7 separate regions of the Homo sapiens genome follow, and regions 2, 3, 4, 5, 6 and 7 are each linked to region 1. Evidence: promoter capture Hi-C in 16 types of primary human blood cells and fetal thymus (Javierre and others, 2016). All regions are on one chromosome and are shown on one strand. The core of a region is centred on a gene start or on the middle of the fragment in contact, and the rest is flanking DNA. Distances in the headings are between cores, read along the strand shown. Region 1 holds the start of PEX2 (peroxisomal biogenesis factor 2). Region 2 overlaps PKIA (cAMP-dependent protein kinase inhibitor alpha). Region 3 overlaps ZC2HC1A (zinc finger C2HC-type containing 1A). Region 4 overlaps LOC105375911 (a long non-coding RNA gene). Region 5 overlaps LOC105375911 (a long non-coding RNA gene). Region 6 overlaps LOC105375911 (a long non-coding RNA gene). Region 7 holds the start of IL7 (interleukin 7).

Evidence for each region. Contacts are between HindIII fragments. The CHiCAGO score rates a contact against its expected background, and 5 or more counts as called.
Region 2: a fragment that was not itself captured here is called in contact with the fragment with the promoter of PEX2 in region 1 in 2 of 17 cell types (non-activated CD4 T cells and naive CD8 T cells); the score reaches 7.4 in non-activated CD4 T cells.
Region 3: a fragment that was not itself captured here is called in contact with the fragment with the promoter of PEX2 in region 1 in 1 of 17 cell types (non-activated CD4 T cells); the score reaches 6.1 in non-activated CD4 T cells.
Region 4: a contact is called between a fragment that was not itself captured here and the fragment with the promoter of PEX2 in region 1, in 5 of 17 cell types (non-activated CD4 T cells, total CD4 T cells, fetal thymus and 2 more). The highest score is 12.6, in non-activated CD4 T cells.
Region 5: a contact is called between a fragment that was not itself captured here and the fragment with the promoter of PEX2 in region 1, in 1 of 17 cell types (activated CD4 T cells). The highest score is 5.3, in activated CD4 T cells.
Region 6: a contact is called between a fragment that was not itself captured here and the fragment with the promoter of PEX2 in region 1, in 1 of 17 cell types (total CD4 T cells). The highest score is 6.3, in total CD4 T cells.
Region 7: the fragment with the promoter of IL7 here is called in contact with the fragment with the promoter of PEX2 in region 1 in 2 of 17 cell types (total B cells and erythroblasts); the score reaches 7.1 in total B cells.

Annotation. Positions count from the first base shown.
Region 1 is chr8:76,998,618-77,002,068 of GRCh38, reverse strand. It overlaps PEX2 (peroxisomal biogenesis factor 2), which reads left to right and starts at 1,991. Exons shown (of 4, transcript NM_000318.3): 1 at 1,991-2,079. RefSeq lists an enhancer at 1,702-1,996. The HindIII fragment of the contact is 1,935 bases long and covers 86-2,020 here.
Region 2 is chr8:78,530,082-78,533,615 of GRCh38, reverse strand. All of the region lies in intron 1 of PKIA (cAMP-dependent protein kinase inhibitor alpha), which reads right to left. All of the region lies in intron 2 of LOC105375911 (a long non-coding RNA gene), which reads left to right. Among named protein-coding and RNA genes, the nearest start is that of PKIA, 16 kb to the right of the region's middle. The HindIII fragment of the contact is 1,347 bases long and covers 1,380-2,726 here.
Region 3 is chr8:78,674,832-78,678,470 of GRCh38, reverse strand. It overlaps ZC2HC1A (zinc finger C2HC-type containing 1A), which reads right to left. Exons shown (of 9, transcript NM_016010.3): 2 at 2,608-2,684. It also overlaps a transcript of IL7 not described here. Among named protein-coding and RNA genes, the nearest start is that of ZC2HC1A, 11 kb to the right of the region's middle. The HindIII fragment of the contact is 4,456 bases long and covers 1-3,639 here.
Region 4 is chr8:78,511,764-78,515,171 of GRCh38, reverse strand. All of the region lies in intron 2 of LOC105375911 (a long non-coding RNA gene), which reads left to right. Among named protein-coding and RNA genes, the nearest start is that of PKIA, 2.9 kb to the left of the region's middle. The HindIII fragment of the contact is 5,573 bases long and covers 1-3,408 here.
Region 5 is chr8:78,657,071-78,660,676 of GRCh38, reverse strand. The region is part of intron 1 of LOC105375911 (a long non-coding RNA gene); the gene reads left to right. Among named protein-coding and RNA genes, the nearest start is that of ZC2HC1A, 7.2 kb to the left of the region's middle. The HindIII fragment of the contact is 2,397 bases long and covers 89-2,485 here.
Region 6 is chr8:78,489,846-78,493,236 of GRCh38, reverse strand. The region is part of intron 2 of LOC105375911 (a long non-coding RNA gene); the gene reads left to right. Among named protein-coding and RNA genes, the nearest start is that of PKIA, 25 kb to the left of the region's middle. The HindIII fragment of the contact is 2,516 bases long and covers 77-2,592 here.
Region 7 is chr8:78,804,057-78,807,655 of GRCh38, reverse strand. It overlaps IL7 (interleukin 7), which reads left to right and starts at 2,193. Exons shown (of 6, transcript NM_000880.4): 1 at 2,193-2,743. The coding sequence starts at 2,734. It overlaps MITA1 (metabolism induced tumor activator 1), which reads right to left and starts at 3,184. Exons shown (of 3, transcript XR_002956715.2): 1 at 1,961-3,184. The HindIII fragment of the contact is 3,968 bases long and covers 224-3,599 here.

The DNA.
Region 1 (3,451 bases), core at 742-3,241:
TAGCAAAACTCCCGGGCCTCAGAAAGCTTTTGTTAAATAAATGAATGAAAAATAAATATATCTTTAAAAAACTGGAAACAAAGCTTCCCTGGAACCTCAGCTCACCAGCTCATGGGAAAATTAAGAAGGTATACTGTATCTACAGGTTAAACATTAAAATCTAGAACTTATTTTAAACAATTTCAACAGAATTTTAACTGTTGCATGTTTCCCCGCATTCTTAATGAGATTCATTAAATATGATTCAAGTTTCTTGATATCTTTATTATTTTCATTCGCTACTGTGTGATGTTCACATGACATACATAAGGCTCTATGAACCAGAATTTGCTTTCTGAAAATGTCCTCTATGTCAATCAAGTCTTTGTGTGTATTTTCCCCCGTCCCTCTCAAAAATTAAGTGAAGCACAGCACATCTGTAGGCTACCTGAGAGGTGCAGCGTGGTTGGTTTTCTTCACAGTTGCTAAACGAAAGGCCTACTCTTCTTCAGTGAGATTTTTTTACTCTCTAGAACAGCAGTATCCATAGAAATATAATGGAAGCCACGTAATTTAAAATTTTCCAAAACATTCTCATTTTGACATGTAAGCAATATAAAATTAATGAAATACTTTACATTCTTTTTCTTTTCAGACCACGCTTTAGAAATCTGGTGCATGTTCTACACTTAGAGCAGACCTCAGTTCAGACTAGCCACTTTTCAGGTGGCCAGTGACTACTACACTGGACAGTTGCAGCTCTAGAAAATCCACTCCCAAACCCCTAAGTGAACTACATACTCTATCAATTTGTAGCTTCTACTCTATCTCATTTGTACCATTGTTTCACAATTTGGATAGCATTAGAGTTAATAAATTTTATTTTAGCAACTCTGCTCCATGGGTAGTTTCTGAAATAAAAATACAAGCAAAAAAAAAAAAACTTTCCTAATAACACTGGTTCTACAGTATAAGCTCTCCCTCGAATGTCTAATAGAGCTTTCGTAGAAGTGAGTGTTCCTTGTAGGAACGGTGAGTCGAGACTGGAGGTAAGAACTAAGACGTTCTTAAACCCTACTACGTGCTGGAATCCTGAAGTGCCTGCCATCATTCAAACTTAAGCACTAACTCTCTAGAGAGACACTGCCATTCATACCACAGAACGAGAAGGCAGTGGCGATCCTCAACGGCTACATGTCACTGCCTGGTGAGCACTCTTCCCTCAGACCCCATTCCCAGAAGCTCTGCCTCGATTCCCCAGGGGTAGGCGAGCTGGCTGCCCGAATTCCTAAGCGTTACCGGGGAGATGTGAGGGCCTCCGGGGGCGGGAAACCTCAGGCCAGGCGCGCGCTGGCCCGCTCTACGGGGTCTCTCGGGAGCGCTTTGCAGGGCGGATGACTGACGGGCCAGCTACCTGCCTTCCTGAGCCTGCAGAGATAAACAGCCTATCCTCCCTGTGCACACAGGCCCCGAGGGCGGGCAGGTCTCCAAGCGCAGCACAACTGCCCCAGGCCCGACGCAGCCACCTGCCCGAGGGCTCCCTCCCCACCAGGCCATCCCTCAGCCGGTCCTCCTCCGACAGCGAACAAGGAACCCCGGAGGCGCGGAGGCGTCTCGCCGCCACCCGGCGGCGCCTGCCAGAGGCCCTTCGCGATGTCCGCAAGCAGAGAAAGCCCTGCCCTCCCAAGCCCCGGCTTCCCCTAGGCCCCTCGACACTTGTAGTGTCCTCACTTGCGGCCCCTGACCCGGGGCTGACCGGTTCGTGACTCTCCTGCCAATCAGAGACAGAGTTCTTCCGGCCAACCGGCCAATCACCGCGCGCGGGTGTCCGCTTCGGCTTTTCGGCCCTTCGGCTCTTCGGCTTGTCGGCGTTCGCGGTTGTTTGGCCATCCAGTGCCTTCAGCAGCGCCGCTAAAGCGCAGTTCTCGTTGGTGTAACTTTTTCTTTTTTTTTTCAGCCACTTCCGGCTCCTGCGTCGCTCCGGAAGCCTGCGAGTTCCGGAAGCCTTGGTAATCCAGATTCGGCTAGGAAAAGACAAGCTTTCCAGAGAATGTTTCAGAGAAAGTTACGTGGAGCGTGGGCGTTTCGCAGACTCCTAAGGTCAGTGTCTGCCCTAGAGAGCCGGAGTGCAAACCCGAGGTCTTGTTTTCAGCTGGGAGGTCGTGGAGTTTCACGACCTTGTAATTGTCGCCGTTTGCTTTTTTTTCCCTGTTTATTGGCTTCCTGTCTCCCTGGAAAAGGCAAATCAAAGCTGCTGAATTTTGGGAAAGGCAGTGAAGCAAACCTAAACTCCTAAAGATGTTTTTAGGATCGCGGCATTAAAAATAAACACACACACAGCTGCAGTTGAGCCCCTCTGCATTCCACGTAGTAACTTAAGAGACGAACTTCGAAATCTTTTTCTCTCATTTGGCGGTCGTGAAGATATTTACCTCTTATAAACGGCTTTATAAAGAATTGAGGATCCAAACTTTACTTAATATCTGAAAGTTCATGTAAAGTGTTATATGTAGTACAAAAAATTTGAGTGCTTAGTTTTCTAACACTGTTGAAAGCGCACGTAAATGCAGTTTGGTTTTCTTATGGAGGAAGAGATAATGAAAAGTTTCTGATAAAATTGCTTGCGATAAATTAGTTATATTTCACGTTGACTTTTGATAAGAAATCTGAATGTGAGAATTGTTAACATTTTTTCCTGGGTTCTTAAATTAAAAATCGTTGTTTGTTTATTTATTGAGGTACCATTTTCCAAATTTCCCACATTTAGTGAAAGGGCTTTTGGCAAAATGAGCAAGCTGTTGAACGTTCAAGTCTAACACATTCTGTTAAACTTCCGTGATGCCCCTCGGAAATATTTTATCTTGACGTTTCGGACAATTAAATGATACTTGGGCGCTCACAACACCGCAGCTTGTAGTCTAAACACCTTCCCCTAAAGTGTTACCTTTACTTAATCCTGAACAGAATGAACTTGGGGTGGCTCTTTTAACTTATCTGATCTCACCTATATTATCAATTACTTGTTTCCAGAAAGATTACAGTTGAGTGATCTTGAGCCAGAAAGAGATTTGAAAGAATTATTTACAGAGTCAAAAAAAAAAACCCTTCATATTTTTTTCTTAAAAAAAAAAATAGAAGTAACAGGACATAGAGCGAATACTAGACTAGTAGACTGAAGAGTATTAGACTAAATCAAGACAGTTGGATTCTAGTCCTGACTCTAGTTGCCTTTGTACAATTTTACCTCTTGGCCGTATTCTCCTTATTTTTAGAAACTAGTGTTAGTACTCAAGCTGGGGTTTTAAAACTGTTCCATAGGAGAACTTGTGTAGAAATTTTCTGGAGCCGTGCAGGGAGAGACAAAGCAAGCCCACCCTCAGGTTTATTTTAACAAGAGCAGCCATTTAGGTGTTCCGCTTGAATAACAAGGTTCTTGTTAAGAAGATTAAATTTATGTCTTAAACGAGATGAT
Region 2 (3,534 bases), core at 804-3,303, 1.5 Mb before region 1:
TAAAGTGCTGGGATTATAGATGTGAGCCACTGTGCCCAGCCCTCTTTTCCTGTTTGAATTTTAAGTACACTTTCATAACAATCTTATTTGAAAATTAGAATGTAGATTGTATACCATTCTGTTTAACATTCTATTGCCAGCACCTAGTACAATAAATGCCTGAAATAAGGTACATAATAAATATGTAATAAAAGTCCTAAAGTATCTTGATTAAAATCTATATCTATTTTAAGTACTTGAAGACAGAAATAGATTCAAACTGCAAACGAACATGTGAATAATCAAGTCAGTGTTAATGTAAGTACAAATTATCTGCTGATTAAGATATGGAAAATGTCTCAGCTTTGGAATTACTTTCTGGTAATCCTGAGTTCAGAGTTATGGCAAGGGCATATTTAGAGCATGTTAATATTTACTGAGACATGTGTAAAGGAAGATGTTGAGAAGAGGGCATGTAAGATTTTCTGGGCTCCAAATGAAACCTGACTCATCTGCAAGGACCAACAGGCAAAAGACAGAAATGAGTCCATTGTTCTCCTAGATGAAGCCCACCCTGGTGCACGGAATGAAAGAGAGGAGAGGACCTTGAAGGTCTAGGCTTCAAGGATACTCACTGCACTTGCTCTCACAAGACCAGGCGCTGGACAAATAAGAATGTGGGCACCATTGCTTTGTATTTTTTTTATTTTTATTTTTTCTGAGACAGAGTCGCTCTGTTGCTCTGTCACCCAGGAGTGCAGTGGTGCCATCTCAGCTCACTGCAACCTCTACCTGTCGGGTTCAAGTGGTTCTCATGCCTCAGCCTCCCAAGTAGCTGGGATTACAGGCACACCCTATCATGCCTGGCTAATTTTTTGTATTTAATATTTTTAGTAGAGAAGGGATACCACCACGTTGGCCAGGCTGGTCTTGATCTCCTGGTCTTAAGTGATCTGCCTGCCTTAGCCTCCCAAAGTGCTGGGATTACATAGGTGTGAGCCACTGCGTCCAGCCTGCTTTGTATCTTTAAATACACAGTGACCCGATGCAATAGTAAAATATGGCTCAGTGAATGTTCAATTAAATCTGACCAATCAGAAAAATTTCTTCCTTTTTTTTTTTTTTTTGAGATGGAGTCTTGCTCTGTCACCCAGGCTGGAGTGCAGTGGCACAATCTCAGCTCACTGCAAGCTCCGCCTAGAAAAATTTCTTCTTTCTTAGGGAAGCAGTTATGATAGAAATGAGCAGGGGTGAGCTGGAGTGGGATGAGGGTGCTTTCCTTTGGCTAAAAGCTCTAAATTTGTTTGTTTGTTTGTTTTGTAATTTCAGCCTAATTTACAACCTTACTAAAATTTATGGACTTTTATAAAAGGTAAAATTTTATTAATATTAAATAAGCTTTGAGTGTTGGGGTGAAAAAATACCTAATAATTTTAAGAAAAGGTAGAATTATTGCTGTGAAAATTACTCAAATTGGAAAAATAACTAATAGGTACTAGGCTTAATACCTGGGTGATGAAATAATTTGTACAACAAACCCCCATGACACAAGTTTACCTATATAACAAACCTGCACATGTACCCCTGAACTTAAAAGTTAAAAAGTTACTTGAATTTTATTTGTTCCAAATATGAGACTGCTATTGAATTACAATTATGGTTATTACTAAATTGAAATTCACTTGCTATCTCCATCTGATATTACCACATACTTCATTAGTGAACATTTAAGACTATTCTATTGAAATCTTTACAAGTCCTTAAATTGAACTTCATTATAAATTATAGCACACCATGTCAACCAGCTAGCAGGAATTTGCCATCTCTCCTGCCTTCTTCCCTCTCTCTCCTCCTTCCCTTTCTTTCCACAAAGCAATTAAATGGCCATACAACAAAGAGTAGGGATCCAAACCCTTATATTAACTATAGGGGTGGAGTGTGGAGTCTCAAAACAGACCACCTGGTGTTTAAATCCTATCTGTGTGCTTTATTAGCTGTGTGACTACAGGTACTTTACTCAATTGTTCTGTGCCTCAATTTGCCCATCTGTCAAAAAGGTAATAATAATGCCTACCTTTTAGGGCTGCTGTTAGGAGAAATTCATTTGGTTTTAGAATAGTGCTTAGCACAGACTAAGCACAATAACTGTTATATTATTTTTCACTTCTATGAATATACAAAACATTAACATTTGTATCCTTAGCCTCAAAAGCGAATGATCACTGATGTGAATAGCTGATCAGCTAAATGGAGGAAAAACGCCATTTCTTCAGTTTCTCATTTTGCTTTTTAAACTGAAAACCATAATCACTAATTTCTGGCATTATCGGTTGTCAATAAACAGTCTCAAGCCATGATATTATTTTTGAGAAGGTTCTGAATGTTTGCAATGAAGAGAACTAAGAAAGGGTAGAACATAAACTTTTTGATTTGGCTGATCCCAAGTGAAAGATGAAATTAATGATGAAAAATGTAAAAACTCCGCTGAAAATTCATACAGAAAGAACCTCAAGTACTTACAACATACTTGAAATTCAAATGACAGCAAATGACTAATTCTTAAATCAGGAACTCTTCACTAAAATTAAAAATATAAATGCTTTCTTGTAGGCGGCGAAAGGGTACTTAGTAGGTGTCAGGCTATTTTAAAAAGCAGGTTATAGTGGTGATATTTCAGAAGCATTAACAAACTAAGGCAGATCTTACAAGTGACCTGTTTTCAAAAAATTTTATCCTTAAGAGAAGCTTAGTAGAAATCCATTAAAACTTCCTAATGCAGTTATAGGAGAGAATTCTGTGAATTTCAGTTATCTTTTAACATGATAGATTATATTACTGCATCTTACCATTAGGTTGCCAATTATATAAATCATGTTCTAGTAAGGACCAAAACTTACTACTTAAATTAGAACTAGTAAATGTGTGTGTGTATAATCAAATGATACAATCTCATGTCAGCATTATGTCAATGCAAACTAGACTGGCATATTTAACACAGGTAAATGATCAGCAATGTCAATGTTTATTTTTTAAGCAATGCAACTCTTTAAATGAAGCCATGGTATACTCAAGAGGAGCTGCTGATAGACACAAAGATATGGTGGAAAAAAAAAAGTTTAATTAAATCTAAGAACCTGTTTAACATGTTCATCTTTGGGTTGATGAAAGTAAATAACCCTTACAGATTTTCCTAGTTCAGGATCCAGTGAGGTTTGTAAGTGAATTTATAACTAGAAGCAGACCAGGCATATTTCCATGTTTATGCTTAACTCTTAAACATACCAGTTCCTATAGGATAGAGGGCAGCACTAGATTGGCCATGGCACAAAACAGGCTTGAATTCTTGCTCTAACACTTAGTAATTGTGTATACTGATTAAGAGAGCAAATTACTACATTTCATGAACTTTGAATTCATTGTCTGCAAAATAAGGACAATTCTAGTTCTGCCAACTTTAGAGAGTTGGTATTGTCCAATAAGACAATGACTATAAAAATGCTTTGAAAATTATGTGATAATTTAAAAATATAATTTATTATCATAATTTTAGGATGA
Region 3 (3,639 bases), core at 604-3,103, 1.7 Mb before region 1:
TGAGACCAAATGAAAAACCTGAATACAAAATAATAAATAAATAAGATACACCTTGCCTTAACCAAATGTTAAGTTGTAAAACGTATATATAATGCACGCTCTAAGTTATCTTTCTCACTAAAAAAAATTATAAACACTCTTCTAACATGTCATTAAGTTATTTAATACTCTTCTCCTAGTTTGTACATTACTAATGTCAGAAGTGTGTGAAAGAGAACAACTCCATCTTAAACAGGAGCTGAGTAAAATGAGGCTGAAACCTACTGGACTGCATTCCCAGATAGTTAAGGCATTCTAAGTCACAGAATAAGATAGGAGATCAGCACAAAATACAGATCATAAAGACCTTTCTAATAAAAACAGGTTGCACTAGAGAAGCCAGGCAAAACCCACCAAAACAAAAATGGTGACGAGAGTGACCTCTGGTCATTCTCACTGCTACACTCCCACCAGCGCCATGACAGTTTGCAAATGCCATGGCAACATCAGGAAGTTACCCTATATGGTTTAAAAAGAGGAAGCATGAATAATCCACCCCTTGTTTAGCATATCATCAAGAAATAACCATAAAAGTGGGCAACCAGCAGCCTTCAGGGCTGCTCTGTCTATGGAGTACCCGTTCTTTCATTCCTTTACTTTCTTAATCAACTTGCTTTTACTTTGCACTGCGAACTCGCCCTAAATTGTTTCCTGTGCAAAATCCAAAAACTCTCTCTTAGTGTCTGGATTGGGACCCTTTTTCTGTAAAATATTTATCTGCCCTGTAACACTAAGAATAAGAAAAAGTAACAAAGTCAAAGTTACTACACTGCAAAAAAAAAAGTCTCCACTAAATGCCTGAACATAGATACTAGAAAAAGAAAATACAAAGAATACATTAGTTTTAGGATTACAAAAGTTAATGTAAGAGTAGTAGTTTGGATTACTAAAGTTAACATAATAGTAATATGCTAATATAAAGTTAACACAAAATAATAGGACAGGTGGTCTGATTTGTGTCCTTCTCCCATACTAATTCTTTTCCTCCCTTCTGGAACTCAAACTTTGCAGTTTTCTTCGCCTAAGATTTTTCTTGAGCTTATCTAGTGTTCTACTACTATTCAGATTTTTTTTTTTAAAGAGTTGTCCATTCATTCATTTATTCAGTTATTCAGTTTAGGGACATTAGAATGGAAGCTGTCTTAAATGACCTCCAATAAGCCAACTGGATAAACATTCTCCCTCCACTATATTAAGCATGATGATTGATGACATCGGTAAACTAAATACTCTTTTTTCTTTTGTATTTTGACAAACACTAAAGAAGGTAGAACTGTCAAACTTTGGGAAAAAATAAAACCTCAAAACTGGATTATTTCGTGTCTTGCAGCCTCTTAGGCTTTCAGTACACAATTAGCAATCAAGTGTTTTACATACTTATTTTCAGTTTTCATTTCAACAACCAAGCACTGTAATTACAGCTCTTAAGTATTTTTAAAAAATGAGGATAGCAGATGACTATCTAGTGGACCCATGTACATATGTTCCTTATTAAGTTATATATGTCAAGTGTATGTGGTGCTTGTTTCCCAACATAATTCAAGTTTCAGGTGTTATAATAACATCATTAAGTTAAATACCACATAAATGAGAGCCAAAAAAGGCACTTTTTTTTTGCTGTGAAATTCAGCTGAACACTCTGAAAAATAATAAATTGATAAGAAAAAAATCATTGAATGTGTGGGCAAGATGTTTTTAAAAGATTACAAAAAAGCCATCATTATTTAAAAGGTGCCTACAGTCAGAAGGACACTTTGGATCATTAATTCCTCACTTTGCTTTAAAGAAACAAACTAGAAATAGTAAGAGGATGCACAGTGGATCATGGCAGAACTTTAATCAGCAGATATACATTCACAGAAAAATTCTGTCTTACATTAAAGTATTAATAAATGTGTATTTGTGTTTGAAGTTAAAATACGTAAGGTACATAGGCATAATTTTTATTATTCCCTATTTAGTTAGCTAACTTTATTAAGATTAGTTAAAAGCGTTTTTATTTGTACTTACTAAGTAGCTAACATATCTTAAGAATGCATAATAAATTTTAGGTGTACTTTTACATTGAAAAAGTCTTTGTCTTTGAAACATCTCAAACATAAATAAGAGCTGACAGAAAAGGATAATTAACTACCATTTACTACTCATCACCCAGCTTCAACAACTCCCAACATTTTAGCTATTTTGTTTCATCTATCCCTGATTTTTTCCTGAAGTACTATAAAGCAAATTACAGACATTATATTATTTTGTATCTGTAAATAATTACTTATTTCTAAGGTATCTGATTTTGTTTTTTTTTTTTTATTTTGTTTGTTTTTGGTAAGAGTCTCGTAAAATGAGGAATACCTTTAAACTTTAACAGAAGAGTTCTGAAGACCAAACTCTGAAGGAAAGAAAGCATTCTGGAAGAATGGCATAGCTGAAATCAAGACCCTTGAACAAAGAATAGTACCCATTAACTCTTCAAAAACTATTCCACGTAAATTCTTCCCATGAGAATTGACCAGAATTATTGAACAATTACAGATCTGTAAAACCATAAAGGTACAAAATCAGTCTACTCACTAATGCTACTGGAAAGAATGTTCTTCCACAAATCTTGCAAGGTAACAATTCTCCAACTTGGACAACACCTCCATTCTCTAAAACAGGAAGGAATTTAATAAATAATTTATATAACTTGAAATTGTGAAACTTCACATTTTAATGTTTTCTCTTAGTTTTATAGGTAAATTATCAGTTTTTGTGAAAAATGTTTTACTGCATTTTGAAATAAGCAAAATTATCTATGAAAAGGAGCATAATACTTAGTTATCAGTGGTGAAAAAGGTCAGGATAAATATGGAGGAGTCATGATTTAAAGATATCCAAACTGATACTGCTGGAAATATCTAGTTTTCTTGTAATTATTTTAAGCAAATCAATTTGTCATATTCTCTTAACTTATAGGCTATCTCTATGGTAAATTACTACATTTTAAGAACAAAATTTATCTTATTAATTTCCAAGGCATGAAGAAATACCATTAGTGATGAGTTCAGTGACTTCCTGAGATGATTTGAAGAATCTAGAATAAAACGAATCTTACTCTGTTTACCACCAAACAATAGAAAGTACAATGCTATAAGATTAAGATCACCTAGTTATGCAAATTACATGTATTATGTGAATTATTATTTTATACATATAATACTTATATTAAGAGTCAGTGGACTAGTAAATGGAGATATTCTGACCTTACAAACAAAATTAAATAAAGAGGTAGCTACAACTTTCACTCAATTATTAATAAAATTAATATAACTATCATGTAACTGAATACAACAAATGTTATTACTAAAAAGAAAAAAAAAGAAACTACAAAAAAAGAAACTGCATTCTTTGTGATTCTGCATAATTCATTTTGTCATTTTATTTTATTTCCAAATATCAAACATAAACTTGTTTTCATAGCTATAATTTCCTAAAAATGATACTTAAACATGTAACATGTTCCCCATAGTTTCTGCTGAATATTTTAGAGATGCTAAAATTCTTTTATCATATGAAAGACAAATAGAAAAACATTTTTCTTTAGAAGTAACAAACTAATTTTAA
Region 4 (3,408 bases), core at 793-3,292, 1.5 Mb before region 1:
GACCGTCACTTGATACAGGCCAGCTTTACACTATGGATTTGTCCAGCAACCTAAACAGTGCAATTGCACAAGGCCAGGGAAGCACCTTTGCTAAATGAGATGTTTCCATCCATCTATCAGTCCCAAAGTTAGGTGATAATGTAGCCAACAGCTTTCCAACAAAACTTAGTTAGAATTCTTGGTCATAGAATATATGCTCTTTGAAAGCTAGAACAGCTTAATTCATCGCTCTGAGACTCACTTTCATAACATTAGCCCGTTAATATTACCATAGAGCAGGAGATTCTTAATCTGTATAAATGGAATTCTATTCATATACTCCTTTTATACAGATTAAGTATAATGGGAAAAATCTCATTTTTAGTTTCACTAACTTCTAACTGAAATTTAGCATTTAGCATGTCCTTTAAACATAATGTAGGCAACAAACCACAAGAATGTTAGGAGTACCTGGGACTTTGTTTCCAATAGAAACAACAGCTAATTCCTTATTGCTGTTTTTATAGATATCTCTATCACTACACTGATGTTATAATCAAATCATCACTACTTTTTTTATTTAATAGACTATATTTTTCAGCTTTGGTGTCCAGAAAAATTGAAGAAATAATACAGGGTGTTCCCATATATCCCATTCCCAGTGTCTCCTATTGACATCATACAATAGTAAGGTACCTTGGTGTAATTCTGGCATTGCTATAAAGAACTACCTGAGATTGGGTAATTTATAAAGAAGGGCTGGTGGTTCTGTAGGCTGTACAGGAAGCATGATTGGGGAGGTCTCAGGAAACCTATAATCATGGTGGAAGGCAAAGGGGAAGCAGGCAGGGCCTACATGGCTGGAGCAGGAGAAAGAGAAGGGGGAGGTGCTACACACTTTTAAACAACCAGATGTCATGAGAACTCACTACCACCAGAAAGCCAAGGGGGAAGTCCTCCCCCATGATCAAGTCACCTCCCACTAGGCCCCTCCTCCAAAATTGGGGATTACAATTTGACATGAGATTTGGGTAGGGACACAAATCTGAACCATATCATTGGGTTACAATCAATGAATGTATACTGATACATTATTACTAACTATAAATAAAGTCTAACTACATTTAAGTTTCCCTGGTTTTTACCTAATATCCTTAAATCTGTTCCAGGCATCCATCCAGGATACCACACTAAATTTAGTTGTCATGTCCCCTTAAGCTCCTCTTAGCTGTGATAGTTTTTCTTGTTTTTGATGACCTTGACAGTTTTGAGGAGTAGTGGTCAAGTATTTGCTGGAAGGCCTCACTGTTGCAATTTGTCTGATGCTTTTCTTATGATAAGACTGGAGTTGCGAACTATTGGCAGGAGAAAGAAAGAGGTAAAGTCCCTTTTCCTCACATCATATCAAGGTGCTATAGTACCGATGTGATTTATGACTGGTGATGTGTTGACCTTGATTGTCTGGCTGAGGCAGTGTTTGTCAGGTTTCTCTACTGTAACGTTATTGCCCATCCCTTCCATACTGTACTTGTAGGAAGTAACTACATGAAACCCAAACCTAAGGAGTGGGACTTTGGCTCTACCTCCCTGAGGGCAGAGTGTGTACATAAAGTATATGGAATTCTGTACAGGAGAGCTGTCTATTCTCTACCAAGTATTCAATTACTTATTGATATCAATATTATAGACTTATGGAGATGTATTATATTTTATGCCTTTGGTAATAATCAATTACTACTTTATTTTGTTGTTCAATTTGTTCCAGTTTTGCCCATTGGAAGCTCTTTCAGTAGGTTCCTGTGCTCCTTTGACATACCCCCTTTGATGTGTGAGTGTGCGTGTGTGTGTGTATGGCAGGAGCAGCAGGGCTGTTAACAATCCCTTACTTTATGGTATTATAAGTTCCTCCAGTCTCAACTTGTATACTTCCTTCTTCATTCCAAGAATCAGCCATTTCTTCATGGAGCCCTTGTTCCTTTTATGGGAGAATGGTAATACAAATCAAGATCTGGGTCCCAGACACAGTCATTATTGGCAGGTCATTTTGTTTAGGCCTTTCAACTAAGACAGTGAAGAAATATATGTGTATACTTACCCATGCATATATACATAAGTATTTCTATATGTGACCATTCTGTGTCTGTATTAAGCTAAATATGAGCACATACTTATGTTTCCAACTTTAATCCTTTAACACATAGATCATTCTAGCCTCCTCCCTTTGCTTGTCTGTAAATTCCTATTCCAATAGTGAGAATCATGGCTCCCATCATTCACTGTTATAATTGTTCAATTTCAGTGTACATGTAAAGCAGTATAAAAATTGTTAACCCTTTCCCACAATATCACAATTTTTAAGTAAATATATATAACTCTCCTATACTGTGTTTAATGAGTTTAAATGCCCATACCTTTGTATATCATGAATTTTGTTTTTAAATATTTTGATAACAGTATTTTAAACTTCGTAGTTTCCTTTCCAATTCTACGTATTATATTTTATGCATTGAAAAGCATCATTTTAAGAAGAGTTATGTAGGTTGCTTCAGATTGTCAAAGGGAGCCATGGCAAAACTTAGAATACAAACTGTAGACTGTTACTGTGAGGCTATAATGAGATGGCATGAAATTGCCACTCCAGAGCTTCAGGGAGCTGATACTCTGTCAGTGTTATCCTTGCATACTTGGGCAGGCTTCTGTCCCCTTTCTCCTTTGCAAGTTCTAAATACCTTGAATGAGAGAACATGTTCAGCCTTCATAATTTATCATTTAGTTGAAGGATTTGCTAGGTATCTCATGCTGAAGATAAAAGTCCTTATAAAGTAAAGAGGCAGGAGGATGAGAAGGTGAAGAGAACCAGAAGGTTGAGATGACTGTGAAGGTTAGAGATTTTGTAGTTGAACAGACTTGGGCTTGGATCCCCACCACTCACAGCCTGACTTTGTCTTGTTTCTGAGATGAAGACAACAATTGTCTCAAGAGTGAAAGATGTTTGATCTTTTCCTTCAAGTTGCCTGAGGCAGTAGGGATGCAACTGTGGCGACTTGGGACAGTCCCAGAACATGTTTTCTTGACCCCCCAGTGTAGTTTCCATCTGCGAAGCCAGACTCACTGAAGATAGTTTCTTGTGATAATATAGATACATTCATCTATCAAAGTATTCTTATCAGGTACTTTTTATTCATGGAAAGGAATCAGTGTGTTGATGGTGTTAAAGACAACAGTCAAAGACATTAAATGGCAGGATTGAACTGCTTCTGATACTCCAGCACGGTAAGAGGCATAGGGAAACCAGAAAGAAAAGGGGAAAGATATTGGGAAATGTCTTATGTCAACATATAGGGTTTGAATCTGTCTTCTTGGAACTTTACATACAGCAATATGTAATTTTTTTTAACCTATGACTTGTTATTGCACAAATTTTTTTTT
Region 5 (3,606 bases), core at 38-2,537, 1.7 Mb before region 1:
GAGTTTTACCAAACTTTAAGACACAGATAATTTATATTGTGTCCACATTTTCAATAAAATTTAAAAAGAGGAAAAGCTTATAAAAGCTTATAATTAATTTTTTAACATTAGCATAATTCTGACTCCAAGCAATATAAAAGCAATATATGAAAAATTATAGGATTGTCTGTATATTGTATATACAAAAGTCATAAAAAAGATGTTAGCAAACCATATTCAACCAAATTATTATTAAATAAAATCTATACCAAGAATGAAAGTATAGTTTAATATCAGAAAATACATCTGTAAAATTTTAGCTTTTTTCTACTATTTTGTTTAATCAATAAGAACAATTGACAAGCAATGAATTCTGCATTTGAAATATTTATGATACATTCCAGTGACAAGTTTTGTTATTCTTTGTATTGCTGAATTCACCAAAGATAGGTATATATGATTAATGATGGTGGAAAAAAGAGGGTTGGTATTGACAAGGAAATGTGGTTGGTGTCTAGATAATTTGTAGTAATGCTATTTTATTAATTGTACTCCTTCTAAAAAAACAACCAGTTTGGGTGGGGAATGGATAGGCAAAAGATAAAAATGTATTTCTAGTTTTAAAGACAAAATTCCCTCTTGGATGATTCTACATATTTAGGCATTCATATCTTAATTTGAAACACATTTACCTTGTAACTAGCTTTGTGGTGCATCTGACACTGCAGCAGAAGATTGGCAATAGGCCTGGAAAAAGGGATACAGATAGACTGATGTGGGAGAAGGGCTCTGATTTACAAGACCAGAACACAGCATGAATCCACTGGAGGCCTGAATGGTAGTGAACACAGAACAGAGATAGGTGGATCTGCAGAGGCCACTAACTGTTCTGTTGTTCTCAGAAGAGTATTACTGATATATACCTGAGCATATGGCTGTGGAATAAAAACTCTACTCCCCAGTCTTTCTTGCAGCTAAGAAGTCCAGATGACAAAGAATTCATAACTTCCATGTGCATAATTTTTAAGCATCTTTAAAAAAAGAGAGGGTGAGCCATTCTCCTTCTTTTTGTTCTCCTCTGTTGGCTGGCATTTGGGCAGGATGCCTGAGGCTGGAATAGCCATCTTGGACCATAAGGTGACTTTGGGAATAGAGTCCATTCATAGAAGAGGTAAAAGACTGAGGAAGCATGGATCTCTTGCATCTGGACCATCAATCTCTAAATTTATACAAGGGATAGAAATAATTTTATCTTAAGCAATTTTTTTTTGAAAGAAAAGAAGAGGTAAGGGGGATTGTTCTACATTTATAGCCAAACTTAATCCTCGTAAAACAGAGATTTAGATACAGAGGTAAGAAGACAACAAAAACTGTTTTTCCTAGTTTATTTTGTGTTGCTGGGTAACTCTAAAAATTTGCATAGGTATCAATACCCAGAACTGTTTTGAGAAGTTGTGCACTTCAGCTTTGTCCAATTTTGCCTTTTGTCTCCAGGACAGCCAAGTGTTTTCGGATGTATCTTTCCTTTTGGAGGAAAAGAAACAACAAAACAAGAGAAAACTATCAAAAGTCCTTTCCCCCTTACTTCATTATTAATCATAGCAGCTTCCTAGGGCCTTGAAAACTTGCTTTAAAATGCTATGAAATATTACAAATATTATATAATGTTGATGATGATGTCAGGGTATTTATACTAAAGACAAAGAAAAATTATCCTATTATCAAATCACCTAAATAAATATTTTGACACTTATTCTTGGTTTCAAAACCCTTATGGTTCTTCTTAAAGAACCGTATTAATAAAACAACCAGATTATTTGGTTTCTGCAGCTGCCTTTTAATGGAAAGAGCAATATGAGAAGTCACCCTATAAACATATGCTAATTAATAATATAATTGGTTACTTCGTTTTACTTTAAGAAAAATCTCCAGTTTTTATTGTAGATACACATGTAATTAAAGTTATGTGTTATTAGCTATTTATACAAATGCCATGTTTGCAAACATAACATTCTAGAAAAGTTGCTCGCTTGCATTTTTTACATTGAAAATATACCATTTTATGCATTTATGTATTGATTTCTTAGAGTGTATATCAAAAGTATGCACCTGGCATATTGTCTATCTAACAATTGTCTGCTTGACGTTTCTAAGAGGCAGAGTTTTTTAAGCCTATGTACATTTATGTTTCTTAGCAGCTAATGGATAATCAACAAAACAGAAATAAGAATCTCCTCTGGCTCTGTTTTCAAAACATAGTAAAGTTTATGCTTTCATAAGAAAATAAATTCTAGGTACAAAATATTATCTAAAAACATTAGCGTTCCTTAAGTTATATGCAAATTGTTTATATGAATTTATTTATAGAAAATGAATTTAAATATAATTTAAAGGAACACTAATTTTCAAACAGTTTGAATGTTATAAAAGACTATCGTGGTTATCAGTCAGTTTTTCTTTGAAACTTCTTTGAAATTTCTCTAAAAGTAAGAGAGCTCTTAAAGCTTTGCAGTGCCTCTGTTGTTATTATGAATATTAATGGCCATTCAGAAGTGAAGGTTGTTGTTGCCTTTCCAAAATCTCCTGTTCTGGAAGGGATGTTCACCCCTACTATTGAGAATGTTGGCTGATGATCTATAACTTTGCCCTTCTCATAAAGGGTACTGCCATATCTGAGAGGTTAAGACCCTCCTCTCTGATGGGAAGCTCACAGCCAATGACTAACAGGCGGACTCCATTGATTCAGGCTTGCCTGAAGTTGGTCTTCACGTAAGACTACATTCTTGCTTACCTTTCTTCTCCTGCCCTCAGGACCTAACTTGCTGTCCTCACTCAAAGGGAGCTATTTTTAAATAAATAACTTCCACAAGAATCCTGTCAGCTTCTGAGAAAACTGACCTAAGACTCCTTTACAAAGCGATAATAGCACCAATTGAATGGCCTACTGCTACTATTAAATGTTATTCGATCCCATGCCCAGCTATACTTTTGGTCTGAGATGAAAAAATTTGCCCTGACTTTCACTGCTCTCCTGAATTACATTCTTGAAACCAAGAATGTAAAATACTGATGGCAATATGTAAACAGACTGCATTTTACCCCTGGAGATGTCTAAGAGCTCATAGTAAATAAACAGATCATCAACTATCTATTCAGTACCTTTGACAGTAATTCTCTGCATTTTCATAGAACATTATTGTTTTTAAAAGCTTAGTTTAATACTTCAGTCAATGATATTCAATAAATATTTGCTAAATGACTGGATAAATATGAGTGAATGGGTATGGTCTTCAAAACAGCTAATTTAGGTAAGCAGAGAGGTTTTATTTAGCTCCTAATGGTTATGGTTAATATGTTATTATGCACACCATTTCCCATATAGACTCATGTGATAACCTACTTGTGAAGTAGGTGTTATTCTTTCCATTTTTATGTTGTAGAAACTAAGGTTTACAAATAAATAGTATGTAATGTTAACGATGACATCAGAGGATTTATACTAAAGATGAAGAAGAAAAACTCTCCTATTATCACTTACATGAATATCTTGGCACTTCTTCATGGTTTTAAAAACCTTATGGCTCTTAAAACAATCAGATCCTGTGGTTTCTGAAGCTGCCTTTTAAT
Region 6 (3,391 bases), core at 85-2,584, 1.5 Mb before region 1:
TTTATCTAGCATAGCCTACTTCCTACATGAAATCAGAATATAAATCATAGAGACCAATTCTTTATGTTTAAAAGCTTGTCAATAGAGCAGAAAAGCATAAATGCATTTGTCAATGAATCCTTCACAGGACACATGGTTTACATCCTGAAGCAATATGGGAATTCGTTACTGTGTTGACAAATGATTGAATAAAATCTGTTTATTGTTTTCTTGCCAAATTTACTAGACCAGGAAAGTTAAAAAAGAAGAAAAAAAGCTACAATTTTATAAATATTGATTAAAAAAAGGAGAGTTTACATATTTCATCAAACATCTTATTATATGCTGATTATCAGTGGTTTTGCCATAATTTAAATTCTTTTTAATTACCTTACAAAATAGGTTTACAAAATTATATTGCCGTTATTATAAATAAGAATCATAAAGACACATAGAGTTAAGTGATATAGCCACAGAGAAAAGATATTCAGTAATAGTATGATTTTGCTGATATTAATTTTTCTCAAATGTGTTGTAGTGTATAGATACACGGTGTTTATTGTTTAGGTACAAGTTTTTTCAAGAGAAACATTTAAAACGTATATTTCAAAAAGTATCAAAATGTATTTATAGATTAAAAAGAAGAAAAGAACGTAAAAAATTAAGGTATCAGTATTGAACATTTTTTAAAAAGCCCTTTACATTTTAAGTGATAGCACGTAGAAATCGTATTACAATTTATAACAAAGAAATAATAACTATATTTGTGATTTTCTTGTAAGTGCAATTTTATAGGAAATAGTTGGCCAAGCACACTTTTGGAAATACAGTATTTGGAGAATTTATCTTTTTACTGGTTTTTTAATAATAAATAGTTTTATTTCAAAATGAGCATCTGGATATTATTTTTTTTTTTAAAAGGACAATACAAAAACTTAGAACATTCCTTTCAGTGTGTTGATCCTAAGACCTTGTTAAGGAGTTCTCAGAGACCTACATATTTTCAACATATTTTATTTAACTGTCCGCCTACATTGAATTAGTCATCTCTTTTTGAAATACTTTATATAGTTTTTAAAGAATTTACATATATTCTATGTTCCAAACACACTGTCTACTGCATTTGGGCTTCTGTGTACATTGGGAAGACACTTTTCAAGTAAGAAGACAAAGACTTTGAAAGGAGACCTATTCCTCTAACTATTGATCTTAAAAAATGTACATTTCTTACAGTATAAACCCATTATGTTTTTATTTTGAATATTTTAGTGTGATAATATACAAGTAACATAAAATTTATCATTTTAATCATTTTCAAATGTACAGTTCTGTAGCATTAAGTACATTCACAATGTTGAGCGACCATCACCATTACCATTTCCAAAACTTTTTCATCACCCCACATAGCAACTCTATACCCATTAAGTAATAACTCTCCTATTCATCTTCCTCCCAGGCTCTTGTACCCAATATTTTATGTCTCTATGAATTTGCATATTCTATATATTTTATTTAATTATACAATATTTGTCCTTTTGTGCCTGATTTATTTCACTTAGCATATTTCATGTTTTCAAGGTTTATTAATGGTGCAGCACATATCAGAACTAATTTCTTTTTATTTCAGAATAATATTCCATCATATTTTCATACTACATTTTGTTCATCTGTTGATGGACGCTTGGGTTGTTTCTACCTTTGGTTATTGTGAGTAATGGTACAAAACATTGATGTAAGAATATCTGTTTGAGTCCTTGTTTGCAACTCTTTGGTGTATAATCTAGGAGCAGAATTGCTGTGTCAAATAGTTATTCCATGTTTTGCTTGTTGAAGAACTGCCAAACTGTTTTCCACAGTGGCTATACCATTTTACATTTCCAATAGCAAAATATGAGGGTTCCAATTTCTCTACCTCCTCGCCATTACTTGCTATTTTCCCTTTCATATTTTATTATAGCCATGCTAGTAGGTGTAAAGTGGTATCTTATTGTGGTTTTTATTTGCATTTACCTAATAATTAATAATGTTGTACATCTTTTCATGTGTTTACTGCTGTTTGTATATTTTCTTTGGAGTTAAAATATTTTAAGTTATTTGCCCATTTTTAATTTTCTTTGTCTTTTCATTGTTGAGTTGTAGGAGTTCTTTATATGTTTTGGATATTGAATCCTCATCAGATATATGACATCAAATATTTTCTCCCATTTTGTAGGTAGTATTTGCACTTTCTTAGTAATGTCCTTTGCCGAACAAAAGTTTTCAATTTTAACAAAGTCAGATTTATGTGTTTTCTTTTGTTGCTTGCATTTTTGAGGTGAGAATTTATTGCCAAAGTTATTGCCAAATCCTAGGTCATAAAGATTTATCCCTATGTATTTTAAAGAATTTTATGGTTTTAGCTTTTATGTTTAGGTTCAAAACTCAGGCCAGAAAAACAGTAGACACTGATTAAAAAAAAAAACTACAAACTGAACCAACAGTTCAGTTTTGAACAGTTTGCATAATTTTGTATATGGTATAAGTTATGGGTACAATTAGAACTTTCAGTACAATGTTAAATAACAGTGGCAAAAGTGGACATCCTTGCCTTGTTCTAATCTAAGGAGAGAAGCTTTCAGTCTTTTACTGTTGTGTATTACTTTGGCTGTGTAGTTTTCATAAATGCCCTTTGTCATGTTGAAGATGGTCCTGTCTATTCCTAGTTTTCCAGTTTATGTTTTAATTGTGAAAGGGTGTTGGATTCTGCCAATGTATTTTCTGCATCAATTGAAATTATCATGTGGGTGTTTTTCCTGCTTTCTAATAATGTGGTATATTGCATTGATTATATTTTTTGTTGGACCACTCTTGCATTCCTAGGATAAATCTCACTTGATACAGGCCTTAGACAGTCACAAAGATAATAATGCTTTGACTATATTGTCAAAACATTATTGTTCCACACAACTGATGGTTGTTCGTTCAGTTTTCAGTACTTTTGAGCAATGTCCACTGTTTTTTTTGGCCTGAGTTTTAAATTAGGTAATATAGAGATGAACACCTTGCATCAGCTCTTTATGTAGCCCATCCAAATTAGAGCAGACACAATCATTTGTGAATCAGATCTGCTCTGCTCCTTCTAGTTGCCACCTGTGAATACCAGATTTCCTCTTCTAAATGATATTAGAAGATGGGGTTTTTCAAAAGCAAGTAAAAATGCTACCAAGCTTTCCCACCATTTTTTTTTGGTTGCAATAAACCTTTGACTGTTACTCAAAGTTCTGAAAAAATTGGTTCTGACTGTTCTGCTTGTTTTTGCAATCTCTGGAGAGATGAGAGCTTGGAGCTGTCTACTCCACCATTTTACTGACATCACTCTAAAGCAATGTTTTAAATTATATTTTGAATTTGGGCACACTCAAATTCCTCTTCT
Region 7 (3,599 bases), core at 944-3,443, 1.8 Mb before region 1:
CATAAAACATTAGCATTTTAAAAATTTATAAACATTTTATTCTTGTCCATCTATCTTATAAAAAATAATATTCAGTTTATCAAAATATCAAAAGCTAATTTAAGACTTCATTTTGGATTTTTTTCTAAATGGTATTAATTATCTCACAGACAGAAAAAAAAAATCATTACTTGATGTTGTTAGAATGTGCCCATTTCATATAACCCTAACAATTCCCAAAGCTTTATGAATATTCTCTTCAGAAAGATTCTTTATAGTTGGGGGCAGAATCCAGTGTAACATTTACATTGCCTTTCCTGCAGCTCTGAATAACTTCCTTTCATGCTTCCCAAAAGTTCAGATATGTACAACCCTTATTCTACCTGGATTTATGGTGATTGTGATAAAAGGAAGACGGATTTCCTTTTGTGCAAAGTATTGATGGATGCTCTTTTACTTTGTTCCTGGAAAGTTAAAAAAAGAAAAAGGTGCAGGCTATGAACAGTTACATACTTCAATGCTGCTGTCAGGGATTTAAAATAAATAAATAAATAAATAAATAAATAAATAAATAAATAAATCCCCAACCTAGGCGTGTTTCATTATAGAAATCATTTTTAAAACTCACTCCAGTGTCATGTCTGTCCTCCTCCCCACCTCCCACTCTAGGTTCCAGTCAAATGGAAATATGTGGCTTTTCTCACTCCATTCTGTCTCTCTTTTCCATTTGCTTACCCCCTTCGCTTCCTCTTTCATTCTATTTCCTTCTGCTTTCATGAACTTTCTCTTTCACACATATTCACTGATGCATTCCCACTCACCTGTTCTCTCTTACTCTGTCACCCCCCAGTACTTACTGAATGCCAGCCATGGGCTAAAGACCATAGTAAGTGGACGCTGGGCAGGAAGAGAAAGGCCATTGTGGCTGGAGGATAGTGATGTGGTACCACGAAACGTCAGAGAGGGCAGTGGGGCCCAGATCACCAGGGCACTGAGGGCCTGGTACCCAGTGGGAAGTGACCAGAAGGTGGGGCACAAAATAGAATCAGATATCCTGCTGCTCTGAGAAGAATGAAGGGGTTGTGGGCAAAAGTGAAAGCTGGAAGATCCCTTAGACAGTCTCTATAGTCACCTTAGGGTTAATTTTGGAGGTGGGGCAGACAGGACTTGTCTATGGATTTGATGTGGGAAATGAGACCAAAAAAGGAATCAGAGACCCAAGTTTCAGGCTTGAGCAACTCTGTTCTCCCTAGTTCATTGCCATCCTTTTTTTTCCTTTCTCCTTCCCTCCTCTTCCTTGTTCACGCTATAGCAGAATGTGACATACTCCTTACCAGCCCCAAGTTCATTCCTCTTCAAGTGTCAGTTTAGAAGTCACAGACTCCAGGAAACTTTCCTGAAGTCCCCACACTGGGGCAAAGCCACACACGTACTGTCATCTCCCTCCCGGCATCAGTGTGCACATTATTACTTTATTCACAGGAGTTCCAAGCAGGAGTTTCTACAGCCCAAATGCAGCAAGTCTGTGTCTAAGCTCAGTTAGCTAAGTGAAATTTGGAAAGTTACTTAAGGAAGTCTCAGTCCCCACATCTGTAAAGTGCAGATAAGAAAATGGTCTACCTCACACAAAGTTTTGCATGAGATGATATACATAAAATGCTTAGCACAAAACTGGCAGAGAGCAAATGCTAGATAAATGATAGTCGTTATTATTATCGCTGTTGTTACTGGTTTACATTATCCACCTTCATCTAAGCAGGGTTTCTGCAGAATAGCAGAAACCAAACTAATGTAGCAAATAAGCTACATAATTCAAGCCCAGGAAAAAGTTAACATTTCAGTGGCATGCATTCAAGACGAATAGTTTGATTTATTAGCCAATTCAGATAAATGTGCACGTGGAAGTCATAGTTAAATATTATCGTCAGTTTCCACGTCCTGCGTTTAATTTGGGGTTTGATTTTCCAAATACAACACTTACCAGATTAGGTGGACCCACAGGATTATTTTTCCTTGAGGTCTCACCTGAGCAGGTGCATGTACAGCAGACGGAGCAGAAAGAGACTGATTAGAGAGGTTGGAGTGGTAGAGGGCGTGACCCTCTTAATCATTCTTCACTTCCTTTTTTAAAAGACGACTTGGCATCGTCCACCACATCCGCGGCAACGCCTCCTTGGTGTCGTCCGCTTCCAATAACCCAGCTTGCGTCCTGCACACTTGTGGCTTCCGTGCACACATTAACAACTCATGGTTCTAGCTCCCAGTCGCCAAGCGTTGCCAAGGCGTTGAGAGATCATCTGGGAAGTCTTTTACCCAGAATTGCTTTGATTCAGGCCAGCTGGTTTTTCCTGCGGTGATTCGGAAATTCGCGAATTCCTCTGGTCCTCATCCAGGTGCGCGGGAAGCAGGTGCCCAGGAGAGAGGGGATAATGAAGATTCCATGCTGATGATCCCAAAGATTGAACCTGCAGACCAAGCGCAAAGTAGAAACTGAAAGTACACTGCTGGCGGATCCTACGGAAGTTATGGAAAAGGCAAAGCGCAGAGCCACGCCGTAGTGTGTGCCGCCCCCCTTGGGATGGATGAAACTGCAGTCGCGGCGTGGGTAAGAGGAACCAGCTGCAGAGATCACCCTGCCCAACACAGACTCGGCAACTCCGCGGAAGACCAGGGTCCTGGGAGTGACTATGGGCGGTGAGAGCTTGCTCCTGCTCCAGTTGCGGTCATCATGACTACGCCCGCCTCCCGCAGACCATGTTCCATGGTAAGCGCTCTTCTCCCTTGCGCACAAGTTCGCGCGCCCGACGCGCCGGGGCAATCCCAGACGCGCTGGGGGCCCCTGCTCCTAGGCAAGTCCGGGAATAGCCCGGCCTTGCACTTTGGACCTGCGGAGAGCACTGGCTCTCCCATGGGCAGCCAACAGCCGCGCCTGAGTATCCTGGCACATAGCCACTTGAACCTGGGGCGGCTGCTGCCCCTGGCAGGCTGCGAGTAACAGTCCCCAACGCCTGCTTTCTGTCCTGAGAGGGAACGCTGCAGCCTCCGCGCCGCTCAGCGGTGGCAGCCCACAGCCGGTCTCAGAAGCAGCCAAAGGCTCTCTGTCTGGCGCCCTTCCCGTGCTCCTGGCCGCCCCAAGTTACTCACGCAGGCGGCCCGGGTTCGGCGAGTAGCTGGGCTCTTGCAGCTCAGAACTCCCTAGAGAAGTGAAAGCGAAGCTCCCACGGGACGCGCTTTTAAACCCTAGGGGAACAGGTCTCCGGAAAACCCCATTTTTCCCCCCTGAGTAAGACTGGGAGTTTCCGGCAAGGGCTGTACCTTGCGCCTATTGCTGGGAAACCAGTCCTGGGGCTGGCGCTGAGGAAGGCCAGCTTCTGGGTTTTTTTGTTTTTGTTTTTGTTTTTGTTGTTATTTTTTCCTACGGGCGCTTCTTGATGGAGGCAGAATGAAATAGGCGTGACTCTAACTTCCAGACCAGTATTGAGACCTAATATATCTTATTTGTGCAGAATACGGATTTAGAATGGACAGGGACAGAATTCAGGAGGGTTGGATTCGGATGGCAGTCATATATGACCAATGAAAGAGCCAAAAAACTTACTGGAATTAAAAAAGAGGAAAAA